Linked DNA regions of Homo sapiens: all the other regions are linked to region 2. The links are contacts of gene promoters, found by promoter capture Hi-C in blood cells and fetal thymus (Javierre and others, 2016). All regions are on one chromosome and are shown on one strand. The core of a region is centred on a gene start or on the middle of the fragment in contact, and the rest is flanking DNA. Distances in the headings are between cores, read along the strand shown. Region 1 overlaps CAMK2D (calcium/calmodulin dependent protein kinase II delta). Region 2 holds the start of SNHG8 (small nucleolar RNA host gene 8). Region 3 has its middle 220 kb from the start of UGT8. Region 4 has its middle 38 kb from the start of MIR577. Region 5 overlaps LOC105377374 (a long non-coding RNA gene). Region 6 has its middle 130 kb from the start of MIR577. Region 7 overlaps NDST4 (N-deacetylase and N-sulfotransferase 4).

Evidence for each region. The method cuts DNA at HindIII sites, captures the fragments that hold promoters and counts their contacts. A CHiCAGO score of 5 or more calls a contact.
Region 1: a contact is called between a fragment that was not itself captured here and the fragment with the promoter of SNHG8 in region 2, in 1 of 17 cell types (non-activated CD4 T cells). The highest score is 6.8, in non-activated CD4 T cells.
Region 3: a contact is called between a fragment that was not itself captured here and the fragment with the promoter of SNHG8 in region 2, in 1 of 17 cell types (naive CD8 T cells). The highest score is 6.4, in naive CD8 T cells.
Region 4: a contact is called between a fragment that was not itself captured here and the fragment with the promoter of SNHG8 in region 2, in 1 of 17 cell types (naive B cells). The highest score is 6.5, in naive B cells.
Region 5: a contact is called between a fragment that was not itself captured here and the fragment with the promoter of SNHG8 in region 2, in 1 of 17 cell types (neutrophils). The highest score is 6.1, in neutrophils.
Region 6: a contact is called between a fragment that was not itself captured here and the fragment with the promoter of SNHG8 in region 2, in 1 of 17 cell types (endothelial precursors). The highest score is 9.0, in endothelial precursors.
Region 7: a fragment that was not itself captured here is called in contact with the fragment with the promoter of SNHG8 in region 2 in 1 of 17 cell types (naive CD8 T cells); the score reaches 5.9 in naive CD8 T cells.

The regions. Positions count from the first base shown.
Region 1 is chr4:113,532,290-113,534,989 of GRCh38, reverse strand. The region is part of intron 7 of CAMK2D (calcium/calmodulin dependent protein kinase II delta); the gene reads left to right. Among named protein-coding and RNA genes, the nearest start is that of CAMK2D, 230 kb to the left of the region's middle. The HindIII fragment of the contact is 1,003 bases long and covers 894-1,896 here.
Region 2 is chr4:118,277,382-118,280,081 of GRCh38, reverse strand. SNHG8 (small nucleolar RNA host gene 8) reads right to left here and starts at 1,320. Exons shown (of 3, transcript NR_034011.1): 1 at 1,290-1,320; 2 at 651-693; 3 at 259-458. SNORA24 (small nucleolar RNA, H/ACA box 24) reads right to left here and starts at 892; the gene lies at 762-892. It overlaps PRSS12 (serine protease 12), which reads left to right. Exons shown (of 13, transcript NM_003619.4): 13 at 1-44. RefSeq lists a silencer at 1,493-1,542 and an enhancer at 1,613-1,792. The HindIII fragment of the contact is 13,799 bases long and covers 1-2,700 here.
Region 3 is chr4:114,377,444-114,380,143 of GRCh38, reverse strand. No RefSeq gene overlaps it. Among named protein-coding and RNA genes, the nearest start is that of UGT8, 220 kb to the left of the region's middle. The HindIII fragment of the contact is 427 bases long and covers 1,194-1,620 here.
Region 4 is chr4:114,693,574-114,696,344 of GRCh38, reverse strand. No RefSeq gene overlaps it. Among named protein-coding and RNA genes, the nearest start is that of MIR577, 38 kb to the right of the region's middle. The HindIII fragment of the contact is 4,720 bases long and covers 1-2,771 here.
Region 5 is chr4:113,387,610-113,390,309 of GRCh38, reverse strand. It overlaps LOC105377374 (a long non-coding RNA gene), which reads left to right. Exons shown (of 5, transcript NR_199847.1): 5 at 1,860-2,700. Among named protein-coding and RNA genes, the nearest start is that of MIR8082, 240 kb to the right of the region's middle. The HindIII fragment of the contact is 2,369 bases long and covers 81-2,449 here.
Region 6 is chr4:114,781,479-114,784,241 of GRCh38, reverse strand. No RefSeq gene overlaps it. Among named protein-coding and RNA genes, the nearest start is that of MIR577, 130 kb to the right of the region's middle. The HindIII fragment of the contact is 1,770 bases long and covers 612-2,381 here.
Region 7 is chr4:115,076,601-115,079,300 of GRCh38, reverse strand. It overlaps NDST4 (N-deacetylase and N-sulfotransferase 4), which reads left to right. Exons shown (of 14, transcript NM_022569.3): 2 at 2,019-2,700. The coding sequence starts at 2,265. Among named protein-coding and RNA genes, the nearest start is that of NDST4, 36 kb to the left of the region's middle. The HindIII fragment of the contact is 649 bases long and covers 1,065-1,713 here.

The DNA of each region.
Region 1 (2,700 bases), core at 146-2,645, 4.7 Mb after region 2:
TAATGTTTTATCTCCTCTGCTATGACACATATAGTTTGAGAGCAGGGCTATGTGTAGTGGAAAAAATTTTACTTTATGAATCAGAATATATGAATTTATATCTTGGCTCTGATTCTTAACAGCTGTATGATATTGAGCAAGTCACTTTAAATCTGTGAGGTCACTATCCTCTTTGTAAATGGGATAATAAACACTTCTTCACAGGACTGTTATAAGATTGAGTGAAATAGTCCATAGAAACTTGATTGAGCTATAAAGGATGTTCAATAAGTTTTCAAAATTGTCTTGGTGTGAAACAATGACATAATTCTTTGCATATTCAGTGAGAGTTGTTTAGTGAATCAGTGAGTAGAGGACTGAATATCAGGTCAGTAAAAGCAATAGCATCCAAATAAAAGTACATAGATTTTCAAATTGTTACTGATTTCTAAAAACAAGCTGGTCCCAAAGAAGCAGTGACAGCTCAGCAATAAAATTTCCACTTCATCAGCATGGTGCTATCAGCAATTAAGTTATTGTTAAGGTACCTGTTAGAGTAATAACTTTTAAAAGAAGCAACATCTTAAGTTCTAAGGCAATTCAGTATTTCAGAAGTACAGAAAAACAGAGTGTCTAAACTTGGGAGAATATACTTCTTTTTTCTCTTTCTTTTTCTTTTCTCAAGTTCAAGCGAATCTTCATGGTAATCTGAGAAAAAAGGAGATGTGGTGTTCTACGTTTCTTTCAGATGAGCTGCCAGATATATTTTAAGTATTAGGAGTAAAGGCATGTTTTAATAATGAATGACCTGTTTTGATGTTTATTCATTATGATCTGCCATTATAGTCCCATATATTTTTACTGATTAATTTTATCTTTCAAAATGTAATATCAGTGTTTATGGAGGAAAAGCTTTGTTATTTTAATTTTGATAAAGAGCAGGACTCTTTCTTCATTATGTGGAATACCAGAGCTTCAGGCTTTTACATAATTTTATTTTAATAAATATACGAGGTCCATTACAAATAAGAAAAAACATAGTATGTATACGAAACAACATAATAGATAATACAAAGCATTATGGAAGCTGTTTATTGTTTTTTTTTTAATTATCATTTTTCAAGTCCCAACTTGTTTGTTTTTTCCCATATTTACTTTTCATTTTCTAGTCTGGTCTGTTGGAATACTAGCCAAAACTGGTAGAAGTAAACACCCTGTCACTATACTTGATAAGATGGCTAGAAAATTTACCAAAAAGAAATATTCAAATATATTCTGTTTCTCTTATGGAACTGGACATGTTATTTGCAATACATTTCTAGCATTTTGTTGCTGCTAGAAAAAAAAAAGATAACTACCAAGATCTTGGTTCATGGAAGAATTATTTTGCTTTGTTGCTGTTATGTCTCTTTTTTATGATATTAAGGTTCTTTTTATGCCAATGTGTTACAATGGATACATTTCCAACAGTCAGTAATTCTCTTTTCTCTTTGTGTTATCTATTTTGATTTTCTTATTGGTTTTTCAAAGTAAGAAACATATGCTATCCCTAAAAAAGGCAAGCTCTCATTACTTTTTCTATTGATGGCATGTAGTATGATAATCCTAGATTCTTGCAAGTTTAATTTCCCACAGAGAAGGTCTTCTCTATTTTACCCCCCATATGTCTGTATTTATGAGGTCACATTGTACCGTACATTCTTTCCTAACGTCCATGCATTTAGATATATGCTTCAATATTCTTGGGGTAAGGACCCCATTGACTGCTCAAATGATGGTTGTAACTAAATAAGAATGAGCATGCTGGTATTCTCTTAGAATTTTAGTCTCCAGAAGAGGTTTGTAATAATTTATATTTTAAATGATCTTTTCATTTCTTCCTCACATAGTAACTTACTTCCCTATCTTAGGGAAGCTTAGGAGAGGTATTGTTAACATTTCGTACTTCTGGCCATGTATTCTAAGTTATTGAAATCATACATTATTAAAGTTTACTGATTTAGACAGAAGAGTACAGATTGTATATAAAAGAGTCATTGAAATTCAGGGTGAGAAGGGACCACCGAGAACTGTAGGTAACTAAGGAGAGCTCTAAGATGGAAATAACTTAGAGCCACTCTCTGTTAGAAAAGAGGTAGAGAAAAAATATTGAGGATTCAAGGAACAGAAAAAGTAGTATCAAGGGTGACACTGAGAAGGCCATTTTTAAAAGACCTTAAAGAGATTAGTCAGGTCAAGGGCTCAGAAGGAGAATGAAATCATGTTGAATGAATGAAGTGTAGCCGGATGATAAAGGATCTGAAAGTGCACACTAAGAACATTGGATGTAATCTGGACATTAGCATCGATTTCTCACTGGAGTCTCATTGCCTGTCAACTCTAGAGAAGTTGGAGAAGGATGGTGAGAGTGGAGGGGACAGAAGTGCTGGCAAACTCTTTAAAACAATTGTGTCCATCTCTACCTTGGAATTCACAGAGTGCATATCACTCCTTGAGGAAATCTTCAAGCTTTAGGCAGTGGAACCACCATTATTGCTCAGTAATTCTCTGTACCTCACAACTACCAACCAAATATTTATTTCAAGTCGAGTTTGAGGTACAGATGGATTACCCAGGGTCCATTTGAAGCTTAAATTGCAACATACAGGTCTTTTCTTGGAATCCCTTCTCATTGTCTATCCAATCTTCCCCCAAAACAAACAGAAAAAGAAGAATGGTAAT
Region 2 (2,700 bases), core at 71-2,570:
CTGTGCATATTTGTGTAAATAAATACATAATTTTCCACCTTGTATAACTGCCTTAAATTTTTGTATGGTTTAAAAAGAGTCTGCTGTCTCCCTTGGGGGTAGCCTGGTAATTTTTATATTTTACATTTTTCACAAAGGCTGCAATTACCTTAGAACTGTACTCACACTACTTCCACATGAGCGTGTAACACTAAATAGGAGGTATTATGCTATTAACTACCTTTCCGTCTATTAATCACTCAGTCAAGGAACAATGAGTAGCCACATGAATTAAGCATTTTATTTAATTATCACGGACCACCTTAAATATTACTTTACAAAATTCAGGCCTATATTTAAAATAGGTGTCCTGATAACTTCCAGGATATTATTCGGAACACCCGTTTCCCCAACTACGATAAGTCCATTGCCGGATGCTGAATAAACTTCGCCCATTACCACTTGGATTTCTTGATAGTCTGCAAGAGAAAAAAAGCATTATAAAACTCCGAGCTGTGTACTTACCTCACTGTTTTGAGATCTTATCAGCTAATTCAGTTGGTTGTTAACTCAAACTACAAAAGCCAGCAAAACGGGCCAACTTTAGCTTTCCAACGTCCTGCCGCTAAGGCGTTTCAGATTAACTCAGAAATATCAAAAAAGAAATGTACCTTATGTTTCCATCATCCATCGTAATGTGTTCAGCTCAGCTTCCTAGAAACATTGAACAACGGTTTAGAAATTTTGCCCAATAACCCGGCACCCTCTAGGTTTTTAACAGTGAATGTTACTTGTGCAAGTCAGAATCTGATACCAATTAAATGGTGACAGCTTTGCCAATAAACAAGGATATGCTCTTCCATGGCTAGGAAGGGAGACTGCCACGGCTGACAGGTCCCAAAGATACATGGAGATTCACAATCCAGAATTAACCAGCAACCAAACTGCTACAGGTTATTACTCACCATCTGGCTCAAACTGACGGTTCTCGGGGTGCTAGGGCACAAGAGCGACAGAGTAGACTCAAGATGGCCACATGACACAGACGGCTGAACAGGCTTCACCGGAGTCCCCGAGTGCACGGAACCTTTCCCCGAGGGCCCACGGCCCACGCACGCCGGGGTTCAGGGTCCAGGGCTGCACGTGGACGCCCGGCGACCTAATGAGCACTCAAGTCCGCGCATGCTTGTAAACTTAAGGGTTTCCAAAGCCGCCCCCGACCTACCAATATCCTGACTGCGCTGCCTTTTAGGTAAGGCAGTAAGTTTCGGCCCAATTATCATTTTAACTTACGAAAGACAACTACGTACTTTCACCTAATCCCGACGCTTCCCGAATGTGAAAGGCCGAGGCCTTCGGCACACGCTCTCTTATAGAACTGATGACGCTATTCCGGGGGAAGCGCCGCGAGGGGCGGAGCCTATGCTGTTTCACTCCCCGCCCCGCCTAGCCCCGCCGCGGCTCCACCTGTTCCGTCTACCACCCCCTTCGCGGCTCCTTTCCCCCCTCCCCCGCACATGGTCCACGTCTGAGCGGGTCACCTGGCTCCGGATCCAGACGCATGCGCACATACGAGAGCCAAAAGGTTCTCGCATAGCGAAAGATCCTGACGCTTACCGGTGTAGGTCACGAAAGCGAGGGGGATTTTTTTGGTATTTCCTGTTTAGGATACTTATTTTAGACAATATTAGAAAAAGGGGCCGAACGCGGTGGCTCACGTCTGTGATCCCAGCACTTTGGGAGGCCGAGGCGGGCGGATCACTTGAGGTTAGGAGTTGGAGACCAGCCTGGCTAACATGGCGAAACCCCGTTTCTACTAAAAATACAAAAATTAGCCTGGTGTGGTGGTGAACGCCTGTAGTCCCGGCTACTCGGGAGGTTGAGGTGGGAGAATCTCTTGAGCCCGAGAGGCGGAAGTTATGGTGAGCTGAGATCGCTGGTTAGCATTTTACAAATTACCTAATCACTACTCAAAAACAAGAAAAGTCTGAGAAACTATTATGCCAGAGAAAATGATGCATAATGATTAAATGTAATGTGGTATCCTGGCTGGGATCTCCAGCAGAAAAAGGACATTAATGGAAAACTAGCGAATCTGAACAAAGTGTGGAATTTAGGTAATAGTGCCAATACCGATTTCTTTATTGTGACAGATATACCATGGTATTGTAAGATATTAATGGTAGGGGAAATTGGATGAAGGGGGTGTGGGGACTCCATTTTTGCAAATTTTCTGTAAATGTAAAACAAAGTTTAACTTAAAAAAGCAATTATAACCTTACAGTCTATTATACTTTCATTTTAAGACAAAGTAGTGATTTAGTAGTGGTTTCTATCTACTTTAGTGTGAAATTTGTGGCTGAGATGACAGTATTTCTAAGTTTGACTTGAGATCAAACCCAATGAATTTAGCTGCATTCAAACCAAGGCTTTGAGCCTTTGGATATTCAGGAGAGACAATGTGGTAACAAATAAAAGAATTAAAAATTGGTTGGTAAATGAAGATTGGCTTAAGGATTTTATTTTATGTATTTATTTATTTAGAAACATTCTTGCTCTGTTGCCTAGCCTGGAGTGCAGTGGCATGATCTTGGCTCAGTGCAACCTCCACCTCCTAGGCTCAAGCGAGCCTCCTGCTAGGCGTGTGCCACCACTTGGCTACTTTTTTTTTAAGGTTTTTTTTTTTTGAAAGACAAGCCCTCACTATATTGCCCTCAGGCT
Region 3 (2,700 bases), core at 158-2,657, 3.9 Mb after region 2:
TGTTGTCATGGCAAAAGCCAGTTAATATACAGGGAAACACAATAGTTTAAAGTATGGTCAAATTTAGAAGTTTCTGGATTAGGAATCAGTGGCAATGGAAAATTCCTAAGATTAAATGCTCCTTTTTGAATTAATTTTGCTTTCAGATACCATAACTGTAAATTTATTTCTCCTGACCAAAAAATACCTTATTGCAAAAGAAGAGGGGTCTATTGTACAGGGACCTTGTTGTAGTAAAACAGAGTGTGTGTGTGGGTATATATATATATCTCCAGGTATCCATGTATCTATCTATCTATCGATCTATCTATCTATCTATCTATCTATCTATCTATCTATCTATCCATCTATCTTTCTAGAGAGATAGATAAATCTATATCTATATATCACTTTTTATATAATATATGAACATCTTCAGATAATTTCCTGGGTTCCATGTTATAATAGTTCTTGTTAATCATAATCAGTTTTTGATATAAGAAAAATTGAATATAGAATTCAGAAGTGATTAAAATTAGTACAAACTACTTCAAAACAATGCTAAAATTTCTGTGAACTGAAGTCTAAGATTGCTCGGCATGTTTGAATAAGGCAAAGTTGTTTTTTGTTTATTTGTTTGTTGTTGTTCTCAGATAAGAGGGGGATAGTTACTTTATATCCAAATCCTTACAAAATCTTACTTATTGCTGATCCTCTCTCAGTTTATTTAATTTTGACTAACCAAACCAAATTGTTGTTGTTCAGTGAAGACACATTAGCCTAAAAATCTGTCAATACTAGTATCAAGTGAGTGATTGACTGAGATCGACTGAATTGATGAGAAAGAAAAAAAACCCTAAAACTATAATACAGATTTATTTATTCCTATCATGAACATGACTTCACAATTGCAAGTGCTGGGTTATAAACAAGTTTAAAATTTATTTAAAAAGCAATGCAGCAAATGGTCGTGTTGAGGAGATAGTGGATGTATATTCATAGGAAAATATAAAAACAAATGGGCTAATGTTTTGTGAATGTATACACTCAGGATAAATTTTCCAGTGAAAACATTGTATACAGACCCAGAAAGTGCTTTATCTCAAAAAAGTGTGGACCAGTAAGAAAATAATGTGCTCTGGACAAAGCCATTAGATTCAACAGGCAGCTCTGTTAATGATGAAGACTACTTTAGGAAATACATATCAAAAGCTTAAATAAAATAGTTCAAGGAATGTGAAAAAGTATATTTTTATAGTAGTAAAGTAATTACATAATAATTTGTGATTATAAATATGTTAATTTATTTGATGAAGTAAATATTAAAAGTTGATATTGTTGAAGTTAATTAAGATGGAGACCATGCCTGAAAAAAATCCCTGAGCTGACAAACCCAATTAGAGCTCATAAGTTACCTCAACCTTGCTCGATTTGCAAACATAAGTGAAACAACCTGAGGTGTTTCTTGTAAATGCCTGTATTAACGAAAAACAGAACTCAATCTCAATCAATCAGAAGCAGCCAATTAACATATTATAATTAGCAACTTTCTAAGAAAAGAAACCAAATAAAGCAACTGTACAACTGTAATCAGTCAAATGTCTTATTTTCTTTTACCTCAATGATAGGATTGTAAAAGCTTCCCTGTTGCATTTCACTTGGTGGAGCTCTCAGATCACTTCTGGTTTGGAGCCGCCCGGTTAATGAATCATTGTTAGCTGCAATAAATTTTTTAAAATAGTATTGTGTTTCAGTTTACCTTTTAAATAGTATTTACAATTATATATACAAAATTAGATGTTAATATGGTAAAGTTAGTGAAAAAAACTTCTTTCTGGATCTTTTCCTTGGGAAAATAAAAGATGACTTTATGTTTTAGGTTAACTCAGCAGGAATGCATGGTACCTAACTTCATTCTGAACCATATTCCTTTAACATTTACCACCTTCTATTAATTAATCCCTCACCTATTTTCCACCAAAGATTAGTTCACTCACTTAAAAATTAACAAGTCTAGAACGTAATTTACAAGAAGAGATGTCTCCTAACTTCAGAAGCCTAAAGGTTTGATAAAAGGAGTTCTTCTTTAATGATTTTAACATGCATGATGATTTTCCTTTTGATTAATAAAGAAAAAGCTAGAATTTAAGAGCCAAAGGGTAAGCTATCACATCAGGCTCTGGCCAATCCTATGCTAATTAGGAAATTGCAGAGCCAATTAAGCAAGCGATGATTAGACTGTTGTCACTGGTCAAAGAAAGCAGCTAAATTGGTTTCTTTTGACTACCACATTTTAAACTGAACCTCCATTAAAACCACAAAGAGACATTTCTTTGAAAATGATTTTAAAAAAAGGATTTAAAAAACTAGATAATCTCTTTAGGGGATACTTTCTCCCAAAAAAGTGTTAAAGTTCTGAATGTGTAGGTTGCCTTTCACTAATAAGTGAAGACATACAAATAGAAAATACTTTCCCATTGACCAATGAGTAGATTAATAAGAACCCATGTGGGTTATTTCTTCTGGAATAATGCCTAATAAGGCTGTCAAAGTTACACTGGTGTCTTAATCCATTTTATGTTGCTATATAACAGAACACTTGAAGCTGGGTAATTTATAAAGAATAGAGGCCATGTGTGGTGGCTCACGCCAGTAATCCCAGCACTTTGGGAGGCCGAGGCGGGTGGATCACGAGGTCAGGAGTTCAAGACCAGCCTGGCT
Region 4 (2,771 bases), core at 96-2,595, 3.6 Mb after region 2:
ATGTTTCAGTGGCACAAACGTGCTGGAGACTGCTAGGGAAAAGATACCACAAAACAAATTTTATCAATATAAAATTTTTTGCTGAGCACATAATCGGTACTCAGTAAATATTTTTTGAATTAATAAAAATAACTGACTATAACATTTTGATCATGTATGTCAAATATTTTATTGCTCATTTGCAGTGTGATTAACACAACGGAGCTTATCTAGTGTAAAGAAAACATATTTCCCCTGAGAAACTATACTAGTTTACATTGTTATGTACTCTCTTATTTCTCTGTCAGTTTACAGGCTAAGTCAACATAGCAAAGTGCAGGCTAAACATTTAATTTAGTCAATATAGACACAATAATGTAGGTAAATTAGGCTATGACAAATTGAGTCTGAATTTAAACACTAATTAAATTAACTGGATAATTAACAAAATTCCAATTTCACTTGTAATTTGTAAACAGAGTCTTAGAAATATAATTGTGACACTTTCCCCCTACTCCTTGGTAGAACTTTGTTCCAAAGAGTAAATAAAGCATATAGATGATCATATAAAAATCAAAGAATGTTTGGATTCAAAGAGAGACTGGGGTTTAATCCAATATATTCATTCTGAAAATAAGTTTCAGGCTTAATGATATCAAATAATTTGCCCCAATTTCTGCTAGTATATATATGTCTGAAGACAAAATTTGACAGTCTCCAGCATGTTTGTGCTGCTGAAACATGCTGATTAAAGGTCTGAGTTGATTTGTTAAAAGTATAAATAATTTTGCTCCTGAAAACCTAGCAAAAATTAGAATTCATTGCTTGTGATGTTATTTTGCTTAAAACACATATAAAATAAGCCTAGGTCAACAAAATTTGCTGCTACTAAGTATAAGGACATGTCTATTCAGTCATTTAAAAATATAAATAATGATAGATTATCATAAATGGAAAATATATACACAGGTTGTCTTTTGGCTTTCTTTTAAATTTTCTTAAAAGTCCATATATTACTGAAATTCACCTAATCAGAACAAGTGTGGTGCTTATACACATAAATGGAGCATATTCACATCAGCTAAACATAATTGCACGAAGAAATATATTTATATTATAAGCTACAGTTTTAAATTTTATTCTCTACACAAATTTCTCAGAATTAAAATGTAAAAATGTTTACTAAAGGTTGTTTATCTCTTTTCTGCCTACCCCTTTGTTCTTAACCATTTTAAGGTATCTTTGCTGAAGACAAAAATTACCAAATTTCTCCATTTTATTCAATCTCCAACTTATCTCAATGTCTCTCAAGATATATACAACATTGACATCTTAAAACTTTGAGAACAGTGAATAAATAAATCTACATTTCACCACTAGATGTCATCAAAGATCTGTTCATCAGAACATCAGCCATCCAGCTTTTGGCCATTTGACCTCTGCCAGAAAAATTATTGTATTTCTCAGCATAATCAGGAAACGATAATTTTAGTAAAATAGTCTATCTAATTCCTCAATGTTTAAATAATGAGTTTCCATATGCAGCAATATCTTAAAAATACATAAAAATAACCCAAATGTATATTAATAGAGAAGTTACTTTATCATTTCAAAACTCCCAATAGATCTAATTAATAGGCATTGCCAGTGTGAGAGTAATTTTATAATTTATATATATATTTATCAGAAATATACATGCATGTAATTTCTCTGCCATTTTTATTGGAAAATAAGTACAAGTTGTCCTCTTTCACTCTAAGATAACTCACCAGTTGGGAGGATTATAACACCATTAGCAGTTGAAACTGTTCATATCATTTGTAACTATTATTATCAGCCCCAAGATGGAGAATCTGATAATTGAGTTTACATGTTTAATTAGCTTAAATAATTTTAATATATACTTTTCATTCATTGTATTTATTCCCACAAGAAATAATAATGAAATAATTTGCTTCATATAGTTTTATGGTAGAATTCCTTTAAAAAGCAAACTTTCATGCAACATGTATAATTTTATCTGAAAAACCCAATCTAATAATCTACTTTTATTGCTTAGAGTAAGTTGATGTTCATCTGAATTGGCATACTTCCAAACTGAAAGAGAGCAGGAAGGAAACATTCATAATAAAATAAATAATGAATACATTCTCTTCAATGTAGACTTTTTCTTCATAATGTGCTATCAAATATCACTTTGGGTATTAAATATTTTCCCTGAATGTGCTTTGTAGTATCTTTTTTTTCAAGATAAAATGTAATATAATTGGAACCATTTTGATTAAGCATTTTTATTCTTTTTTTGAACACTCATTAATTATACTTTGTTTTCTAGGACCTGAATAATGTTTTTATTGCAAATTTCCCAACTTAAAGATAATCTCTATGTTTTGGAGAATACATTGACTATGACCAGGATGGAAAATTTAAATTCATATACTAAATCACCAACTCAATCCTTCCAAGAAAAAGAAAAGAAATCATATATTCCAAGGCTGTCATATATAATGCCGACTCAAAATTATGATATTTCTGATAGGTCGATCATACTAATAATTTACTTTAGTATGATATTCAGAAAAGAGTGAGCATGGTATATATTTAGTTCACTGCATATCTTCAGGTATATTTCCTGGCACACATTAGATATTCTGTATGTATCTGTTGAAGAAATGAATAAATGCATGAATAACACATGGCAGTAATCATGAGAAGAGAGACTTTGGCTTTTTCTGTACTAATCTCTAATTCTGCAAGTAATACCTATGCCACTTGTAATATTAATGATAGTA
Region 5 (2,700 bases), core at 16-2,515, 4.9 Mb after region 2:
TTTCTATGTTCAGACAATTCACATATTATTTTCCTGTCTGGCTACTCTCAGCACAGGAATTAGAACCCTAGTTTGAAGCTTTTAGTTTTCTTCTGACCTCTGTTTAGCCATATCTCATAGTTTCTAATATGTTTACTGTTCAGCATTTTTTGAAGCCACACTGCAGGAAGATTGAGTAATGAAAAACTAGGAAAGCATATGTAGAAAAAAAGGCAAAGGAAAAGAGAGAGAGAAAGAGAGCATTAGTTAGGTGTAAAGACAGGATTCAGGGATAAATCTATTTTTCTCATAAGCTGTGCTCACAGGCTGGGAGAGAAAGCCATCATCAGTGAGCACACCATGACAGAGCAAGGCCGCAGGAGATGGGGAGGGGACAGCAAGAATGTCTTTGTCCGTTTGGGATGCTGTAACAAAATACCATAAACTGGACAGCTTGTAAACATAGACATTTATTTCTCACAGTTATGGAGACTGTGAAATCCAAGGTCAAGATGCCAGCAGATTTGGTGTCTGGTGAGGGCCCATTTTCCAGTTCATGGATGGCACCTTCACTGTGTCCTCGCATGGCAGAAGTAACTAGCTAGCTCTCTGGGGTCTCTCTTATAAGGATGCTAATCCGAATCATGAAGGTGAAGCCCTGCCAAAGGCCCCACCTCTTAATACTATCATGTTGAGGGTGGAGGATTTCAACATATGAATCACCTCCCAAAGGCCTCACTTCCTAATACCATCACATTGCAAGGGTGATTTTAACATACGAATTTTGAACATAATATTTAGACCATAGCAAGGACACAGGCCATAAATCCAGGAGACAAGAGAGCATTCTTTGTGAGAACAATGAGTAGTAGGGTTCACGTAAATACAGACAATTTTGGAGGTAGTAATAGAAAAGGCATTTGTGATGGCTAATTTACGTGTTAACTTGACTGGGTCATGGGGTGCCCAGATATTTGGTTAAACCCTATTCTGGGTATGTCTGTGAGTGTGTTTGTAGAATGAGATTAACATTTGAATGGGTGAACTGAGTAAAGCAGACTGCCCTCCCTAATACAGGTGGGCCTCACCCAATCAATCAAAGACCTACATAGAACAACAACAAAAAGAAAATAAAAGAAACTAAGACAAAACTTCTGCTTGACTGCCCTTCAGCTATTAGTTTTCTTGCCTTCAGACTCAAACGGAAACACTGGCTCTTCTTGGATCTCAAGCCTGCCTTCAGACTGAATCTATATCAGCTCTGCTCACTCTGCTGAGTGCAGATCTTGCGACTTCTCAACCTCCATCATCATGTGGAACAATTCCTTACAATAAATCTCTTTATATATGTGTGCACACACACACACACACACACACACAGGCATGCATGCACACAGGCACATACACACTATTGGTTCTGTTTTTCCAGAGAACCCTAATATAGCATTGTAGTAATTCATGCCCATTGACATCTACTTTCTTATAAAACAGCGTCAAGTTCATCTGCCAAATGTGAAGCAGATAAGGAAGAGAAAATGGGCTTGAGAAGCAAGAAAGAGATTTTTCAGAATAGTAATGACAAAGTTACTGAATAAGGTCTGTTTCCCTTTATAAATATATTTTTCCAGAAGAAGAAGAATTTTTTCCGGAAGAAAAGTAATTTTTAATTAATTGTTAAATGATCAGTTCAATATGTCTCTGCTGCAAGATTATAAATCCAAAGGGAAGGGTCTGTGTTTTTCAAAGATGGAGTGTTGTTTATTGTTGGTGCCATTTGCTTGAGTTCTTATCCCAGCTTTGTCGTTTTCTCTCTGCATGATTTGGGGCATGTTATTCAATTTCTTTTCCCCTCAGTTTCCTCACCTGGATCTGTTTCCTAGGATTGTGATGGAGATGAAAGAAGAGCATTGAATAGTAACTGGCAATAGTGAAAACTCAGCAAAAGTGACCCATTGGGCCATGATCTTGGCCCAGTCTACCCTGAGCACTATAGCACAATGTTTAAAATATAGTAGGTCTTGAATTGCATGCATTTGTGGATGGATGAAGACTGTTATTCTCTGGCTTAGCCACTGTGATTGATTGTTAGCAGCTGAGCATTATTTTGGACCTATTCTACATTCTTCCCTGCATGTTGGGGGAAGAGCCTCAGGTATACATTTTTTGGAATCCCTTTCCAGTGGGGTTATGTATTTGATTTTGCCGATGAAAGTTGTTTGCCCAAGATTTGAAAAGGAAAGAGAAGAAAAATGATTATACCTTTGGGAGCAGCTGGGGAGAGGTGCATGGACTCTGGCAGAAGACACATGGAGTGTTTTTGCAGCCATATATGGGCTATCTCCTAAGAAACATATACTTTGCTGCTACATGAATCTGAGCCCTTCAGTGGCAGCTTGGATTTCTGATTTCTGCACTGGTGGATTTCTTCGTAGCAGTAGTAGCTCCTCAGTGTGAAAGGAAAATAAAAGCTTGGGACCCCCAATGCACTATGCCACAAGGAAAAAATTAAGCTGAAAGCTGAGTCAAGCAAGACACTGACTTTCCTTTTGTTTCTAAGCAGATAGCTACAATAAAAGGTTAAAAATCCCCACGGGTAGCTACTCTATGTAAAGCGCCAATTTACTGAGTGCCAAACGAATACATAATTGAGTATTCCCCTACCTGCTCCTTTTCCCTTGCAGCATGTGAATTTAGTAGTGTGATCATACCCTTCCTTTTCCT
Region 6 (2,763 bases), core at 247-2,746, 3.5 Mb after region 2:
ATGTGAGATGTGCCTTGCACCTTTCGCCATGATTGTGAGGTCTCCCCAACCACGTAGAACTGTAAGTCCATTAAACTTATTTTTCTTCCCAGTCTCGGTTATGTCTTTACCAGCAGCATGAAAATGGACTAATACGCCTAATGATGGAGATCCATATTTATCAAATAAACTGGACAACAAGTACTCAACTACAACTGTGACAGCTGCTGCAAAAATTCCCGATGTTGTCAGAGTCTATAATAAAGGGATGGATTTTACCTGTCAAAATCACGGAAGATATTCCCTAGGAAATGCCACTTGATCTAAGATTTGAATGATTAACAGGTATTAACTAGCAAAAGAAGAATGAGATCAACTTTCCCAGACCAAAAAAAAAAAAACCAAAAAGCTAAGCAGATACAAATTCCTGAATAGGAGGAAGATGGCTACTCTGAGCATATAGGAAAAGATAAGGCCACATTCAGGAATTGTGTTTTTATCCTTAAAAAGGAGAATGATATTCAAGAGATATAACTGTCCCGACGGAAAAGCAATTTTCCAGGCAACAAAGTACTACCCAGAACCTAAGTGTATTTGTCTGTTTCCTCGCTATTAAGTCAGAGTGAGAAGCTTCCACCTGAATTTGGAAAGTGATCCTCAGGTCTTTCGTTATGCTACCTGCTTTGATGTACTTCTGGCTATTTGTTTCACCTGTATGATTTTATGTTTCTACTTTAGCAGTGTGCTATTTGTAGTCAGTTTAGCTACTAGACAGTAGCATGACATCACCAAGGGGGCTTCACAATACAATTCAAGCCACACCCCTGCTCATGATTTTCAAAGCCCTCAGAGATCGGCTCTGTGAAGATAACTGGCGCAGGTCCAGAGATTCTATCTTCTTGTCCCTACTCTGGCACAAAGAAGTTTTAAGTTCTTGCACAAATTTCTTCACCTTACTTGGCCTCAGTTTTCTTATTAGGTAACCTCTAACAACTTTCTGAATTTCTTTTGTATTTGAATATGGCCACTCTTCTTACCATCTCCAGAGATATTTCAAATTAGCCTAACTAAATATTTTAAAAATAAAGTAGCCCACGCAAAGAACATGCTATTCATTCCATGCATTGAAACACTGTGCTATCATTTAGAGCGAGGTTATAAGTCGACCCCCTCCAGAAATTCCTGAAATGCCAAAAACAGTTGGCTACAGAGAGCAGAAAAAGAAATGCTCAAATGACCCATGAGAGTTGACTCTCCTCACTCAGTGTAAATTGTTATTCACTTCCTGTGAGTGGGCAAATTACTGTTTACAAAGCTATTATGGGTCTCATTAGTTGTCATTATTATTTATGGATATCACAGCAATTACCAAAGTGCCTCTGTGCACTTTACCTTGGAGTTCTTTCTTTAATTAGTCATATTGAGTGTTACTAGCTGACCTCCTTGCATAATGGATAAGGCAAAGGAAGTACACAGTAAGGTGATTAAAAACAGGATCTTTGTTGTAAGGAGGGGAAAGGAATGAGTCTGTGAGGATCAATCAGTGACACTTCATCGCCAATTGCCAACTGCAAATTTACCTATATAGAAACCAAGAGAAATTACTCTGTTACACATGTAGAATAATGACATTTTGATGGACTTCCCCTCCTCCAGGGAAAGAGAGGAGTGACTCTGTCTTACAGAGCCTAGAAAGCAGGAATTAAATTGCCAGCAAGACTCCTATTAGCCTATTATTTAAATGTTTAACCCAATGACCCGGTGAAGCATGATTAATAAGAAATCTGTCCATGGTATCAGTTTATGTCGATGGGACTCATTGTCAAGTGGCACAAGCACATTGCAGACTTCTAATTTATTATTTAGGCTGATATGTCCTTGTGATTCACTTGAATACAAAGATTGGTATGTCTATATCTAGCAATTTCAGACTCATAATGTAATAATTTTTGTTTTGTTAATGTAATGCAATTTTTGCATCATCTCTCAAACAAAAAAATTAGGTATAAAATATGTGAAAGAGGGATTTATATTTTCTATATTATATAATACTTGCTACTTATATCAGTCAATCAAAACTACTATTAAGCACCTACCATACTCGCCAAAGTGTGGTAGTTGCTAAAGTGAAAACTGGAATAATAATAATAACAACAAAAGAGTAATTACCTGTTATAGTAAGTATTGCAACAGACTAGCAATAATAGTTTTAAAAAGGAAGAAATGTATTAGAGTAATGCTATAGGAAAATGTCCATGTAGGAAATAAAGGTTGAACTGAACATAACAATATATCTTGGCAGGTGTATATAAAAGAGAATAATAACTCAGACAAAGGGAAAAACCAATAAAAATGAAAGAGTGAGATGACCTTTATTATAAGTTTTGAGTCAGTGAGAAGCTTCTCCTAAAAGGTTCCTTATCAGAAGTAGTGAAGAAATGTTGACTAGGAAACACAGAAAAAACATATAGAGTAAAAGCAAGAAGAGTGTAAACTTAATGTTGTGCTACCAAAAGACAGTATGGTAATAATAATTTATAAATGTGGCTCTTGACATTTCTTTCAAGTATTCCCACATCATTTATTTGCAAAGGGCAGACAAAACATTGTCATCATTCTTGTTTAACAGATGAGGAAATAGCCTCATTACAAGTAAAAGACTAGTAAGTGACATCCACGTCTTGTTGAGGTGGTCTGACTTCTGAGGCAGGGATCTGATAACTTTATGGGCTTCACAGAGCAGTAACAGTGTGAACGTGTCTGTTAAGGACAATGAGTTTTACT
Region 7 (2,700 bases), core at 140-2,639, 3.2 Mb after region 2:
AGCTCACTGCAACCTCTGCCTCCCAGGTTCAAGCATTTATCCTGCCTCAGCCTCTTGAGTAGCTGGGACTACAGGCATGCACCACCACACCCAGCTAATTTTTGTACTTTTTTAGTAGAGACGGGGTTTCACCATGTTGGCCAGGATGGTATCGATCTCATGACCTTGTGATCTGCCCACCTTGTCCTCCCAAAGTGCTGGGATTACAGGCCTGAGCCACCGTGCCTGTAGTAATGTAGTGTATAATGGGAAATTTTTTTTTTAATGCTGTGTTAGTTCATTCTCAAATGACTATATAGCTGCAACTGGGTAATTTATGAAGAAGAGCTTTAATTGCCTCACAGTTCTGCTTCTCCTTTAAATATCAGTTCTGACTTTAGGTCATTTCTTTGCTTATGTATCCCAGTATAGGTTGTTAGAAGCATCCAGGTCACTTTTTTTGGGCGGGGGTTGGTGGGGGCGGAAGAGAGTTTTGCTCTATTGCCCAGGCTGGAGTGCAGTGGCACAATCTCAGCTCACTGCATCTTCCGCCTCCCGGGTTCAAGCAATTCTCTGTCTCAGCCTCCTGAGTAGTTGGGATTACAGGCACCCACCACCATGCCTGCTAATTTTTTTTGTATTTTTAGTAGAGACAGGGTTTCACTATCCCTACCAGGCTGATCTTGAACTCCTGACCTCGTGATCCACCCACCACTTCTTGAATGCTTTGCTGCTTAGAAATTTCTTCCACCAGATACCCTAAATCATCACATTTAAGTTCAAGTTCCACAGATCCACAGGGCAGGGGCACAATGTAGCATAGTTGTTCGCTAAGGCATAACAAAAAATGACCTTTTCTCCAGTCCCCAATAAGTTCCTCATTTCCATCTGAGACCTCCTTAGCTTGTATTTCACTGTCCATATCACTATCAGCATTTTGGTCACTACCATTTAAAACCAGTCTCTAGGAAGTTCCAAACATATCCTCATCTTCCTGTCTTCTAAACACACACTCTCTCTTTTGCTCCTGCTTCCACCATGTGAGATACCTGGCACCCCCTTGCCTTCTACCATGATTGGAAGCTTCCTTATATCTCCCCAGAAGCAGAAGCTGCTATGCTTCCTGTACAGCCTGCAGAACCGTGAGCCAATTAATCCTTTTTTTCTTTATAAATTTTCCAGTCTCAGGTGTTTTTTTAGAGCAATACAAGAACAAAATAATACAAATGCATTCTACATTCATTTTTTTTGAACTAAAGGAAGTGATAGAGAAATAGAACATCTGATTCTTGGATAAAAATTGACAATGAGTAAGAGTTTTAATTCTTATTACAAGAGTAGGCAAAATTAGGAAATATGCTTTGAGACTAACATGTCATTGTTCTTTTCACCTAAGCGTTCTGTCCTCTGTTTCATTAGCGAGATCTGAGAATGCCTGTTCCTGCAAGAAGAAGGAGCAGTCCTATGTATCTGGGCTGTAATGCTGAAGAGGGCCAAGTGGCTCCCTGTGAGTCCAGATAAAGGATATATTATTCAAGAGAAAAACTTGTAACTACTCTAAACTTAAGACAGATTTATTTAGTCAGCTGGGAATTCCAGAGACTCAGGCAGATACCTAAGAGCATGTTTAATTGCTCTAAGCCCCTGATTCCTGATTTCCTAATTTTATATGTATATAATGGTTATCAGTTCTGTAGAATAGTTTTATGGTAACTGACATACTTTGTTAAAGCTTACTTTCTTACTTCTTTTCTTTTTTGGTGGGATTAGTTAGAAAATGATCTCAATACATGTTTCTATATACATATGGATGTTTAGGCCAAAATAAAATTGGGTTCTGTGTTCTGGAGGTTATCAAAAAATCTACTATACTCTAGGTAGTTAAGTCTAGACTGTAAACATCAGGTTGTTAATATTTTAGCATATTAACACTAAAATTATCATTGCTATATATGTTTCTTGAGCATCAGCATTTATATAGAAATAAATATTTATATTTCTATTTTTATCTTAGTTATTACATCTCTCCTCTCTTTCAGATTATGCTTAGAGGATTCTGCAGCAATTCTCAGTATTGGACATATTCAAAATCTCCTCAACGTATATCCTTCCCATCTATTGCCTTCCAGCTTTAACTCAGTTGTGCTCCCTTCAAACATTTTACATGATTTGCGATGGTTACATGAACTCTGGGGAAGTGATATTTGCAACATCTCATACTTTATTCACTATGGCACTTTAGGAAACGAAATTGGGAAAAAGCTTCCAAAACATTATTCTAAAAAATGAATCTTATTGTGAAACTTCGGAGAAGTTTTCGAACATTGATTGTTCTCTTAGCTACCTTTTGCTTGGTGAGCATTGTCATTTCTGCCTATTTTCTCTACTCTGGCTACAAACAGGAAATGACACTTATTGAAACCACTGCAGAAGCAGAATGCACTGACATCAAAATTCTACCATATAGGTCAATGGAGCTGAAAACAGTTAAACCTATTGACACATCCAAAACGGACCCTACTGTCCTTCTCTTCGTGGAGAGCCAATACTCTCAACTCGGTCAAGATATCATAGCTATTTTGGAGTCCAGCCGATTTCAGTACCACATGGTTATTGCCCCTGGAAAGGGAGATATACCTCCTCTTACAGATAATGGCAAAGGGAAATATACTTTAGTTATTTATGAAAATATTCTGAAGTATGTCAGCATGGACTCATGGA